Linked DNA regions of Homo sapiens: region 1 is linked to region 2. Evidence: promoter capture Hi-C in 16 types of primary human blood cells and fetal thymus (Javierre and others, 2016). All regions are on one chromosome and are shown on one strand. Each heading gives the region's core, a stretch centred on a gene start or on the middle of the fragment in contact. The rest is flanking DNA. Distances are from core to core; before and after follow the strand shown. Region 1 overlaps SAAL1 (serum amyloid A like 1). Region 2 holds the start of SPTY2D1 (SPT2 chromatin protein domain containing 1).

Region 1 (6,491 bases), core at 2,270-4,769, 560 kb after region 2:
TTAGACTCCCCTGAGTCTACAATAAAAGTTGAGGGAAAAAAAGATGACTACTGGAAAATTCATAATAGTATTGGGAGTAACAATTCTAAGAGGAAAAAAATAAGCTCTGAATTTATAGTACTCCTTTCTGTTATGAAGTAGATAACATCTATATTAAGCCAAAATCAGATTCTTGGGAATAGTCAGTAGGTTTTTATGGTTCTTCAAATGACATCACATTTCCTACCATTAGAATCAGATTTCAAAATAGGAACTTTTTCAGGAAAATGAAGGACAGAATGTGGGAACAGACTGTAAAGAAGAGGCGGGGGGAGAAGTACTAGCTCAAGAGTAAAACGGAATGGGAAAGCATAGTCATTTCCTTGAGAATGATTTAGAAGACTGCTTAGGAAGTACTGTTACTATCATCTGGAGATCTGCCAGCATTTCTTTTCCATTGGACCATTTAGAAACCACAGGTAGAGCAATCAGTACCTTAAAGCACGTTTTTCTCTTCTGTGTTTGATTTTTGTTTGTTTGTTTGACTCACAGGTGGAAGATTTTATTAAAATCCTACGTGAAGTTGATAAGGCGCTTGCTGATGACTTGGAAAAAAACTTCCCAAGTTTGAAGGTTCAGACTTAAAACCTGAATTGGAATTACTTCTGTACAAGAAATAAACTTTATTTTTCTCACTGACAGTTGAAATTGACTTATTGGAAATATTAACTAAAGCCCATATTAGACCATAATTGTCTGGTGTTAACATTTTTCTGTCCTAGACTTGTCTCACTTTTTTTGACTTTGGAATCTGAGGTTTCACCACTGTCACCCCTCTTTTTATGTGATATTTATCATCCTCAGTTGAGGAAAGCAAAAATGTAAGCTTATCATTGAGGTTCTTTTTAGGATATGTGCGAGATCAGTGTTGATTTTCTTCATAGCTGTTAATTTTGTTTGTTTGTTTGTTTGTTTTGAGACAGAGTCTCACTCTGTCGCCCAGGCTGAAGTGCAGTGGTGCGATCTCAGCTCACTGCAAGCTCCGCCTCCTGGGTTTATGCCATTCTCCTGCCTCAGCCTCCCGAGTAACTGGGACCACAGGTGCCCGCCACCACGCCTGGCTAATTTTTTGTATTTTTAGTAGAGACAGGGTTTCACTGTGTTAGCCAGGATGGTCTCGATCTGACCTCGTGATCTGCCCGCCTTGGCCTCCCAAAGTGCTGGGATTACAGGCGTGAGCCACCGTGCCCAGCCTAATTTGATTTTTTTAAGTGAGAATTACGTCTTTGTATCCACTGTTAAGTATATTCAGCTGCAGTAACAGAAACCCTCCTGTAGCAGCTGAATCTGATCTCTTTCAGGAACCTTATGCAAAAATCCAGATGTAATGAGGTGGCTCCTTTCACCCTTCACGTGGTCTGCCAGGTAGGCCTTTGCGTTCATGTTTATTGCCTTGTGGTTAAGGGGGCTGTGCCATCTCTGGGCCTTTATCCACATTCAGGAAGAAAAAGGGAGAAAGAGAAGGGGCTTTTTCCTACCAAGTCTTTATGTGTGTTTGGCTGGGTTGGGGGGGTGCTTTTTAATAGATTTTTAAGAAAATATCTGTTAGGAATAACAAAGCCAGCTTTCTGAACCTCACTTTTGGTATAGCCCCTTCCCAATTTATATCAGTTTTTTGGCTTTAAAGCATTGGTCTTGCCTCATACTTTGTTTTCTTTCCTTGAGAGATTTTTGGTGATAAAACCAGATTTTTGGTGATAAAAACAGTAATCTTATTGGTAAGAGATAATATGATTTCCAGTTTAGAGGTAGGTTTATGGTTGGAAGTGTCACTGCTGAAAAGAACTGGAACATAAAAGTAAAATCTTACAGGTGAAATCTCATTGGTAGGTTTATATATACTACACTGTATGTATATTCGCATGTCCTCAGTGCTGACCTTATTGGTAGACTGAATTGACTATATTCAGTATGAGATTTCAAAGGCACTGATGAAATCACTCCTACCTGCTAGCTGACACGAAAATTCCACTCTTGGTTTTTTTTTTGTTTAAGTTTAAGCTTAAGATGCAAACACTGATTAAGAATAATACTTGAGGTTATTAGTTATGTTTACCTCAGTGCATATGAATTTCACTTTTTTTCTGAGAGCATGTTTTTTGTTGTTTTTTTGTTTGTTTGTTTTTAATTTTTTTTCTTTTTTTTTGAGACGGAGTCTTGCTCTATCGCCCAGGCTGGAGTGCAGTGGCGGGATCTCGGCTCACTGCAAGCTCCGCCTCCCGGGTTCACGCCATTCTCCTGGCTCAGCCTCTCGAGTAGCTGGGACTACAGGCACCAGCCACCACGCCCAGCTAATTTTTTAAATATTTTTAGTAGAGACGGGGTTTCACCGTGTTAGCCAGGATGGTCTCGACCTGACTTCATGATCCGCCCGCCTCGGCCTCCCAAAGTGCTGGGATTACAGGCGTGAGCCACCACGCCCAGCCTTCTGAGAGCGTGTTTTAAAACGGGAAGCACAAGGACCTTATGTACCTGAAGGAGTGTTCCACAAAAATGGCAAATTACAGAGGGAGGAGGAGAAAGGATAGTAGTGGGAAGGCAAGGAGTGTCCAATTTATTTTCTGCTCACATTTCTGTCTTGGACCTACACTGTTTACTTTGTTACTTCTTTATTGTTAGCATTATGAGTTTTGGTACATATTTTCATAGTACTTTGGTATGTTTGAAAACATCCTATATCTATAAATTATGATACTTTTAAGTGACCAGTGTTAAAGCATTTTTAATGCTGCATGTTCTGAAGAATTCACTCACAAGATTTAGTGCTTGAATCAGTTGCAGTGATATTTTGAAATGGTGCTTTCTCCAGAACCATAAATATGAAATTTTATATACAGATGAAATTATATACACAAATGAAATGGAAACTCATTTTTTTCCCTATACTGTTTGGCAGGGAAGAGGAAAAATGCAAAATGAGCTTGAGTTAGCATTTGTTATATTGAGTTTGATATTTTAAGTACCTAAACCACTAAGAAAGAAGGCATGGTTTCCTTCCACTGTTTTTGTTTTTGTTTTGTTTTGTTTTGTTTTGTTTTTAAGATATTTTATCCCCTACAGCAAATGGGATATAGCTAAACTGTTGTTTTCTTGGTGGGTTCAGCTTTCCAGATCAAGAGTTTCCCCACTCTATGTTTAGTATTTTCTGTTGCCTTGCTTTGAATTAGTTACTGAATAATTTTGGTATGTAAGTGGGAAAAAGTTTAAGAGCCACCTCTCAGCCTGATATACTTTTTTTTTTGGTGAAGCACATGTAGAAACCGACTATAAGCATTAAAAAACAACCTCTATTAGGGGTTCAGAAAATCTTAAGTGTATGAAATATTGAACACCATTATCTGTTCTTCAGGACTGGGCAATGATGCTGTGTCTGAGCTAGCTGTGAAGCTGATAATCTGTAACTCTAGTATTCTATTTCTTCAACTAATATTCTTTTTTAATTAATATTCTTTATGACCTAATCAATAGCCTTTTTAAAAAAGAAGAAATAGGTCCATATTAATTTAGGACTGAATTATTTATTCTACTTGAGCATGTGTTCTCTTTTACCACTTTGGAACTTCAGTTTCCTCCATGCTCCTGTCAGAAGTTTTAAGAAAGGGAAAATAGGCAAATGCCCCTCTTAACCATACCATATTTTTCTTTCCTATTTTTTTTTTTTTTTTTTTGGAGATACGGATCTCACTATATTCTTGCTAAGACTGGTTTCAAACTCCTGAGCTGAAGCAATCCTCCTGCCTCAGCATCCTGAATAGAATATGTTTTCTTTTTGTTGCTGGTTTGAGATCCAAGAACCATTATTAAAAGTTATATATTTATAGTGAAATAGTATGATGTCTTGGATTTGCTTCAAATTAGTCTGGGGCAGAGGGAAAGAAGTAAGTTAATGGAGTAGATGAAACAAGACTGGCTGCGAATTGGAGTTGCTGAAGCTGGGTGACAATTACATGGGGTTCCATTATACTTTTTTTTTTTTTTTTTTCAGAGACAAGGTCTTGCTCTGTTGCCCAGGCCAGAGTGTAGTGGCACACTCATAGGTTACTGCAGCCTCAAACTCCTGGGCTAAAGCCATCCTTCTATCTCAGTCTCCCAAATAGCTGGGACTATGGGTGCATGCCACCATGCCCAGCTAATTTTTATTTATTTATTCATTTTTATTTTATTTTGAGACAGAGTCTCACTCTGTTGCCCAGGCTGGATTGCAGTGGTGTGATCCTGGCTCACTGCAACCTCCGCCTCCCAGGTTCAAGCGATTCTCCTGCTTCAGCCTCCTGAGTAGCTGGGATTACAGGCACGCACCACCACACCTGGCTAATTTTGTGGGTTTTCTTTCTTTCTTTCTTTCTTTCTTTTTTTTTTTTTTTTTTGAGACGGAGTCTTGCTCTGTCACCTAGGCTGGAGTGCAGTGGCGCAATCGCGGCTCACTGCAACCTTCACCTCCCGGGTTCAAGCGATTCTCCTGCCTCAGCTTCCTGAGTAGCTGGGATTACAAGCGCATGCCACCATGCCCGGCTGATTTCTGTATTTTTAGTAGAAACGTGGTTTCACCATGTTGGTCAAACTTGTCTCAAACTCCTGACCTTGTGATCCGCCCACCTCTGCCTCCCAAAGTGCTAGGATTACAGGCGTGAGCCACCATGCCTAGCCTAGCTAATTTTTATATTTTTAGTAGACAGGGTTTTACCATATTGGCCAGGCTGGTCTGAAACTCCTGACCTCAGGTGATCCGCCTGTCTTGGCCTCTCAGTGGGCTGGGATTACAGGCGTGAGCCACCACACCTGGCCTATTTATTGATTTTGTAGAGATGGGTTCTCACTGTTTCCCAGGCTTGTCTTGAACTCCTGGCTGCAAACAATCCTGCCTCAGCCTCCCAAAGTGCTGGGCTTGCAGGTCACCACACCTGGCCTTCCTGTTAAAGGTTTATAAAAGCAAATAAATGATACACAACTTAAGCTTTAATTTGATTATGAATGATGCTTATTCCTTTTATGTCATTGGGCTAGTCAAACTTACAAGAGCCTGGGCCAATGTAGTCTTGAGTCTTGTGGGCCAGTCCAGCAACCAAAAAAAAAACCACAGGTGAGACTGGAAGCAGGAGGGAACCTTGTGGTGGTGCTGCTAGCCCTCCACTCACCTCTCATACTATTTGTTCATCAACCTGACTGCTTTGTATTTCTATATAGAATGCAAAATCTGCATCGCTAAGCTTTTATGATGTATCTTAGATAATTTGCATGAGGTCACATTTGCTTAAATCCAATTTTATACAACCCAAGGAACATCTGTAATATAAAAGCCAGAAAACCTCCATAAGTTCACATTTCACAGCCAAGGATTTCGTAATATCAGGCTACTCCTTCTATCATTATGATTGTGCCCATGTGATTGCCCTTTCTGAACAACTGTGTTTTCCCTGGACGTTTGCAAGATTCTATAGTGTAGTAACATCATGGAGTAGGGCATTCTCATTTTATCCTAATTGTTCATGCCTCAGGGCTCTGGCAAGGATCACAATTCTGGGAGAGGGTCATGCCACACTGAAATTAGACCTGGAGGGGAGAGGATCTGTACCCAAGGAGGTGGCATCAGGGTCTGCTCTGAGTCCCTGTGTCACCTGGCTTCCTTATTTCCGTTTCTTCTTTCTTAGGACTTCAGCTTGTCTGTGGTCTCTCAAGACCACACCAGCCTGTCTTTTTTGGGGGGTTGTGTTCTGCCAGCTTAATCACTTTATTCTCTTGGTATTTCTTTAAATTTGTGAGAGAGAAATTCTTGCGCAGTTACTAGTCTTTTTGTATCAAGCAGTGTGAGTCACCTGTGATTTGGCTACTTTGGGCTAAGTGTGTGACCCAACACAATCAACTAAAGTTGAAATTAAAATGAGTGTGATACGAAATTTACCTCAGGACACAGAAGGATGTGGTAGACACCAGACTTAATTTCCTGTTAGAGATGACCGCCATTTATTGAGGATTTACTATGTGTCAGATGCTCTGTAAAGGTCTTTAGGTATATTATTTAATTTTGCAATAATCCCATAAGGTAATTGTCACCATTTTATAGATGGAGAAATGAAGATTCAGAGTGGTAAAATAACTTGCTGAAAGTTATTTAGGTAGTAAGTAGCTGACCCAGGGCTTGGATCTGGACCTGCCTAGCCTAATGAATATTCTTTTAGCCACTATACTGTACTTGCATACTGTGGGGAGGCATGGACTGGAGCATGAAGGTCTTGATAGATCACATGGAAGAGACAGCTAGGCTATCTGCACATCCACGTTCCTTTCTCCAAAATTGCCGCTGGACTGCCCACATTCTTCCCCCGGTTACAGCGTATGGTTTAATAAGGGAATTACTCCTAACCCAAGCTGGACAACTCAGGTTGGCTCAAGGACACAGGACTCTAGACCACGTAACTTACAAGGCTGAGGGCACTATTTGGGAGGAGGCAGCC
Region 2 (6,307 bases), core at 538-3,037:
AGAATTTATAAAAGGGGCCCTGAGATAGCTCAGGAAGAGCTTCCTTGAGAAATGATGGTTGGCATTAATTGAAAACACCATATGCCAGTGTATTCGTTTGCTAGGGCTGCCAATAACAAAGTACCACAGACTAGGTGGCCTAAACAACAGACATTTATTGTCTTAACAATTCTGGTGGCTAGAATTCCATGATCAAGGTGTGGTTACCTTGAGGTCTCTCTCCTTGGTTTGTACATGGCTGTCTTCTCCCTGTGTTTTCACAAAACGATGTAGGAAAGAAAGGCTAATCTATAATCAGAGGAACAAACGCAGCTGCCTGTTATGTAGCTCAGGTTCCATAATAACATTCTTTTAAGGCGCAAAATAACTTAAAGTTCCAACAGCTTTGATTTTGAATTACGTTCGCAGCATTAAACCATCAAAGAGTAAGAGCCAGCAGCTTTGTCTAGCATGTTTTTTGTTTTTTTTTTTTGAGACGGAGTCTCGCTCTGTCGCCCAGGCTGGAGTGCAGTGGCGGGATCTCGGCTCACTGCAAGCTCCGCCTCCCGGGTTCACGCCATTCTCCTGCCTCAGCCTCCCAAGTAGCTGGGACTACAGGCGCCCGCCACTACGCCCGGCTAATTTTTTGTATTTTTAGTAGAGACGGGGTTTCACCGTTTTAGCCGGGATGGTCTCGATCTCCTGACCTCGTGATCCGCCCGCCTCGGCCTCCCAAAGTGCTGGGATTACAGGCGTGAGCCACCGCGCTCGGCCTGTCTAGCATGTTTTAACAGCTTGACATATTTACATACTGTATCATTCTCACCCGTCTTAAGTGTACGATTTTTAGTACATGTATAGTGCAACCATCCCCACAATCCAGTTTGGAGGCATTTCCATCCCACCGAAAAGATCCCGAGTACCTGTTTGCTATCAATCCCCTGGCGGGTTCCCACTTGCAGACCCAGGTTTGCCTAATTATTTTCAGTGTTTTTGCTAAGTCGAAATGACCTTACAGATCCAAGATAACTCTCCAAAAGAAGTCAGGACTAGGATCCCAATGAATATGAATATGAAGCATATGTTCATCAGTACACCAAAGTTATGTCAAGGCTGGGTCTGTATGTGAAATTCCTTAATCCATTGCCTGAGCAAAAACACAGGTTGGCTGCTCCACATAAAACTTACTTTCTAAACGGGGCAAAAGAAGTAAGCGCGTGCCCCCATCCCCGGCACGCGTGCATCTGAGTAGGAGGTAAGCGCACGGCATGTGGCCGAATTTGATGAGTAATGGGCATCCAAGACAGGACCACGGCGCTGCTGTGTGCGCCTGCGCAGCTTCGCGAGCGCCTAGACACAAGTAGCCCAAACCCCGGCTCGAGATCCGTCTGTTCAGCTGTTGTGGCGCCGCCGTTTTGGATCTAAGCGCCTACCCGTGACACCCAGAGAACCCAGGCCTGGCAAGTAAACCCTCTACCCCCTCACTTTCTCTACCCAGCGCTCACAAGGAGCAACAAGATGACAAGACCGCGCGCCCGGGCCACCAGGGAAGCCGCTCTCTCGCTTAGCCACACCCCCTTGGTTGCTAAAATGCCTAGTCCCTGCCCCTCGGGTCGACGCCAGCAGCCACGTATCACGTTTGTACGTGTCTCGGCCTAAAAGCGGAAGTTACGCAGGGACTCGCGAGCGCTGTGGCGGCCCTGAAAGGATATAGGCCGTGGAGGGAAGGGGGCGGGCAGACGGCATAGGAAGGCGCCGGAAGTGGTCCCGCAGAGGCGGGGTGGGAGTGGGGCTCCCGAGGCAGTGCAGTTGGCTGTAGCTGGGCGCCTCGGTTAGGTGCGCTGTCAGTCCTTTCCGAGTGCCTGGCCCAGTCTCTCCCGCCTCGGCCCAACATGGACTTCAGAGAAATTCTCATGATAGCTTCCAAGGGACAAGGTGTCAACAATGTGCCGGTAAGTAGCAGCTGGGGCATCAATGTAGGGGACCCTAGTCTTCCAAGTTCGGAATGTGTGTGGCCCATGGAACTTCTGGGCAGCCGCCTATCGGCTCCGGGAGAGGAAAGACCCGGACGCCTTATTTCCTTTTCTTGGGTTTATACTCTTGGGAACTCGGGAGAAAAGAGCTTGGGACGAGACGCGGGAGCCTTCCTGTGAATGGGTTTCGCCGGCTTATTTACCCCTGCAACAGGGACTTTGCGGTTTGGGTGTTGTAGCTAGAATTGCGTGAAAGCCGTGAGTGAGCTGTGCCTGGCACGCTGTGGATTCTAGCGCTGGTAGTTTTTGGCTTCCACATAAACTTCAGCCTAGAGATTGGGAAGGAAATATGTATGTAAGGGAGTTAGGGGGTTTGGGGTCCTTGGCTTGATAGCTTTTTGGCTGGCTTCTCATCGATCTTCAAGTCAAACGTTTAGCGATTTCTTGAAAGAATTCTCTGACTCGGCCCCACCCACTCAGCCACCGAGGTGATTAAATTATCACCTCCCAGGGGATAGGTATCATCTTTTGGGAAGAGAAGTTTAGCAGATTCCACGAAATCCTTGGCCAACAGAATAGGTGAGCTAGTTTCAGCTTCTGTTTACTTGTAGCCTTCCAGATTTCAGTCTTTGTTTAAAATCTAGGTCCCATTTGGTCAGTAGATGTTTGTCAGTTCGCTTACAGTCGCAAGAGCGGTGTAAGACTTAAATGGTAAAGTGGTGGAGAGCGCCTGGTTTCTGGGGGTTATGGCTGTTTTGCATAAGCTAATCATTTCCAGATTTTCAGATGGTACCCACAGCACAGCTGTAAACCGATAAGTTGCATGGTGATGCCTGCGGTTTGAGCAGTGAGGTATAGAACTAAAACGGCTCTCAAAGTCAATTCAGCTAGAATTTATTGAGCTCCGACGAAGTGCTCTGCATTTCCTAGATATTCGTATATTGCAATATTCGTTTTTTTCTCTTCTGCAGCTTTTTTTTGTCTTCTGAGGCTAGTTCATTCTTTTATCCCTTTGAAAATATTGATCTGAAAAAGGTCTATATTTATGTTTATAAATATATGTATATATACACACACACAGCCATCCCTTATCCCAAGAACTCTGAATAACCATTCCTCTAAGCCGTGAGTCATAAGCTTTGCATGTTGAAGGTATAGACTCAAACCTTTGAAACCCAGATCAACAGATTTACTTTCTAGAAGCATCTGTAAATTTTCCAGATGAATCAATATTGGGTCTAGTAACCATTCATCTTTGCATAATTTGGTCTGTATTTCATTCTAGATCTTATTGAATTTCAGTAAAGGTCAAAGATAGTACTAGCTTTGATGCCCAGTACTGTTCTGTGGAAGAATCAGAACTAAGTCATTTCTTATTCTGAAAGCCAGTAGCTGCTGGGAGAAAAGCAGACAGATAATCCTAAAGCAGAAAATTTCAAAATATGTGTATATGTCATAATATATGCATTATCTATGATTGGAATAACAGAAGAATCAAAAAGGGGAAAAAAGTAATTTAAAATTTAATAGATGGGCGCAATGGCTCAGGCCTGTAATCCCAGCACTTTGGGAGGCCTAGGCGGGAGAATCACCTGAAGTCAGGAGTTTGAGACCAGCCTGACAAATATGATGAAACCCCATCTCTACTAAAAATACAAAAATTAGCCGGGCATGGTGGTGTGCGCCTGTAATCCCAGCTACTTGGGAGGCTGAGACAGAATTGCTTGAACCCAGGAGGCGGAGATTGCAGTGAGCTGAGATCGTGCGATTGCACTCCAGCCTGGGCAACAAGAGAAAAACTTCATTTCAAAAAAAAAAAAATCAATAGATAATATAGCCATATATTTTATGAATCATGCATTCTCTGACCTCTCCCCGCCAAAGCTAGTAAGCCTAGAAGTTTGATTTAGTTACCAGCATTATAATTCTTATCTTTTTATGTGGAATTAAAGTCACAAAAGAAACTATTGAGGAATAGGATAAGACTGTAGTTAAATTTCTTCTTCTTCTTTTTTTTTTTTTTTAAGATAGAGTCTCACTCTGTCGTCCGGGCTGGAGGCTGGAGTGCAGTGGCATGGTCTCGGCTCACTGCAGCCTCCACCTGCTGAGTTCAAGCAATTCTCCTGTCTCAGCCTCTTGAGTAACTGGGACTACAGGCACCTGTCACCACATCAAGCTAACTTTTGTATTTTTGGTAGAGACAGGGTTTCACCATGTTGGCCAGGCTGGTCTTGAACTCCTTCCTCAAGTCATTCGCCCACCTCGGCTTCCCAAAGTGCTGAAATTACAGGTGTGAGCCACCACACCCGGCCAAATTTCATGCTTTACTTGATTTGCTTTAACTTGATTCATCTAACTGTTCTATTTACTTTTTCCTTATCAGCTTAAAGTAATTTGGACACTTTCAAACATAAGGAATGTTAACACATTTCTAATATACCCAAACCCCGTATTTAGCATATTAACATTTCCCCATATTTATTCCATCTATTTTAAAAGAAATAAAGCTTTTTTTCTTTTTTTGCCATCTATTTTAAAAGAAATAAAGTGTTTGGTGGTTTTTTTTTTTTTTTTGTTATCTATTTTAAAAGAAATAAAGCTTTTTCTTTTCTTTTCTTTTTTTTGAGATGGAGTCTCTGTTGCCCAGGCTGGAGTGCAGTGGCGAAATCTTGGCTCACTGCAAGCTCCGCCTCGCAGGTTCAAGCCATTCTCCTGCCTCAGCCTCCTGAGTAGCTGGGAATACAGGGGTGCACCACCACGCCCAGTTAATTTTTTTGTATTTTTAGTAGAGATAGGGCTGGTATCAAACTCCTGGCCTCAAGTGATCAGCCCACCTCAGCCTCCCAGACTGCTGTGAGTACAGGTGTGAACCACTGAGCCAGGCCTGTCTTGAAATGTTTCTTGACTTCGATGGTAGCTTAAAAGGATACTTGCTTTCTAATAATCTGTTACCCTGTACACTATGTCTATGATTTTCACAATTATTAAAAACAAAGAGAGAGTTGGGGACTATCGTATCAATTAACAGCTTTATTTCTGGCTGGGTGCTGTGGCTCACACCTTTAATCCCAGCACTTTGGGAGGCCAAGGTGGGCAGATCACCTGAGATCAGGAGTTTGAGACCAGCCTGGCCAATGTGGTGAAACCCCGTCTCTACTAAAAATGCAAAAATTAGCCAGGCATGGTGGGGCACACCTGTAATCTCAGCTACTCAGGAGGCTGAGGCAGGAGAATGGCTTGAACTTGAGAGGCGGAGGTTGCAGTAAGACAGAGGTTGCAGTGAGTGGAGATCGTGCCACTGCACTCCAGCCGGGGTGACAGAGCGAGACTCTGTCTCAAATGAAAAGAAAAATAAAATAAAATAAAAAAAGACAGCTACATCCCTCCCTGCCCTATACACACCCTGCTGTTATAAATTTACTTGATTAATTGATCTGAGAACCACAGAGGCTTTGCAATAACTAACTAGGCTGCATCTCTCTCTATTGATTGGTTCATTTTTCCCTGTTCGCCAACTTCTTCTCCCACCTTCATTTGGAACCTATCAGAGCTAATGCTCAGAATTTCAGTCTTCAGAGTTCTTGGGTCAGACCTTTACTATGGTAAGGAAATCCAGTGACTAGCGATGATTAGACTAAAATCCAAACACCTGTACAGCCACTTCAGCCTTTCAGACTCTTTGCAGAGCTTTTTGTTGTTATTTTGAGACGAGTCTCGTTCTGTCACCAGGCTGGAGTGCAGTGGCGCTATCTCTGCTCACTGCAGCCTCCACCTTCTGGGTTCAAGCGATTCTCCTGCCTCAGCCTCCCAAGTAGCTGGGATTACAGGCGCATGCCACCACACCCAGCTAATTTTTGTATTTTTAGTAGAGATGGGGTTTCACCATGTTGGTCAGGATGGTCTCAATCTCCTGAGCTCGTGATCCACCTGCCTCGGCCTCCCAAAGTGCTGGGATTACAGGCATGAGCCACCATGCCCGGCCAGAGCTTTATTTTTATTTTTATTTTTTGAGACAGAGTCTTCCTCTGTCACCAGGCTGAAGTGCAGTGGCATGGTCTTGGCTCACTGTAACCTCCGCCTCCTGGGTTCAAGCCATTCTCTTGGCTTAGCCTTCCGAGTAGCTGGGATTACAGGCACCCACCACCACGCCCAGCTAATTTTTGTATTTTTAGTAGAGATGGGGTTTCACCATGTTGGCCAGGATGGTCTCGATCTCCTGACCTTGTGATCCACCCACCTTGACCTCCCAAAGTGCTGGGATTACAGGCGTGAGCCACCGTGCCCGGCAGAGCTTTATTTTTTAAAGCTACCTATTGTATCTGTCTTGAGAAGCTATGAGTATTTCCCTAATCATC

The links. Contacts are between HindIII fragments. The CHiCAGO score rates a contact against its expected background, and 5 or more counts as called.
Region 1: a contact is called between a fragment that was not itself captured here and the fragment with the promoter of SPTY2D1 in region 2, in 1 of 17 cell types (naive B cells). The highest score is 5.3, in naive B cells.

What each region holds. Positions count from the first base shown.
Region 1 is chr11:18,074,532-18,081,022 of GRCh38, reverse strand. SAAL1 (serum amyloid A like 1) reads left to right here. Exons shown (of 12, transcript NM_138421.3): 12 at 532-731. The coding sequence ends at 624. Among named protein-coding and RNA genes, the nearest start is that of SAAL1, 28 kb to the left of the region's middle. The HindIII fragment of the contact is 2,953 bases long and covers 2,043-4,995 here.
Region 2 is chr11:18,629,822-18,636,128 of GRCh38, reverse strand. It overlaps SPTY2D1 (SPT2 chromatin protein domain containing 1), which reads left to right and starts at 1,787. Exons shown (of 6, transcript NM_194285.3): 1 at 1,787-1,931. The coding sequence starts at 1,872. It overlaps LOC105376578 (a long non-coding RNA gene), which reads right to left and starts at 1,780. Exons shown (of 2, transcript XR_931097.3): 1 at 1,168-1,780; 2 at 136-249. RefSeq lists an enhancer at 1,297-1,566 and a silencer at 2,623-2,802. The HindIII fragment of the contact is 3,460 bases long and covers 1-3,091 here.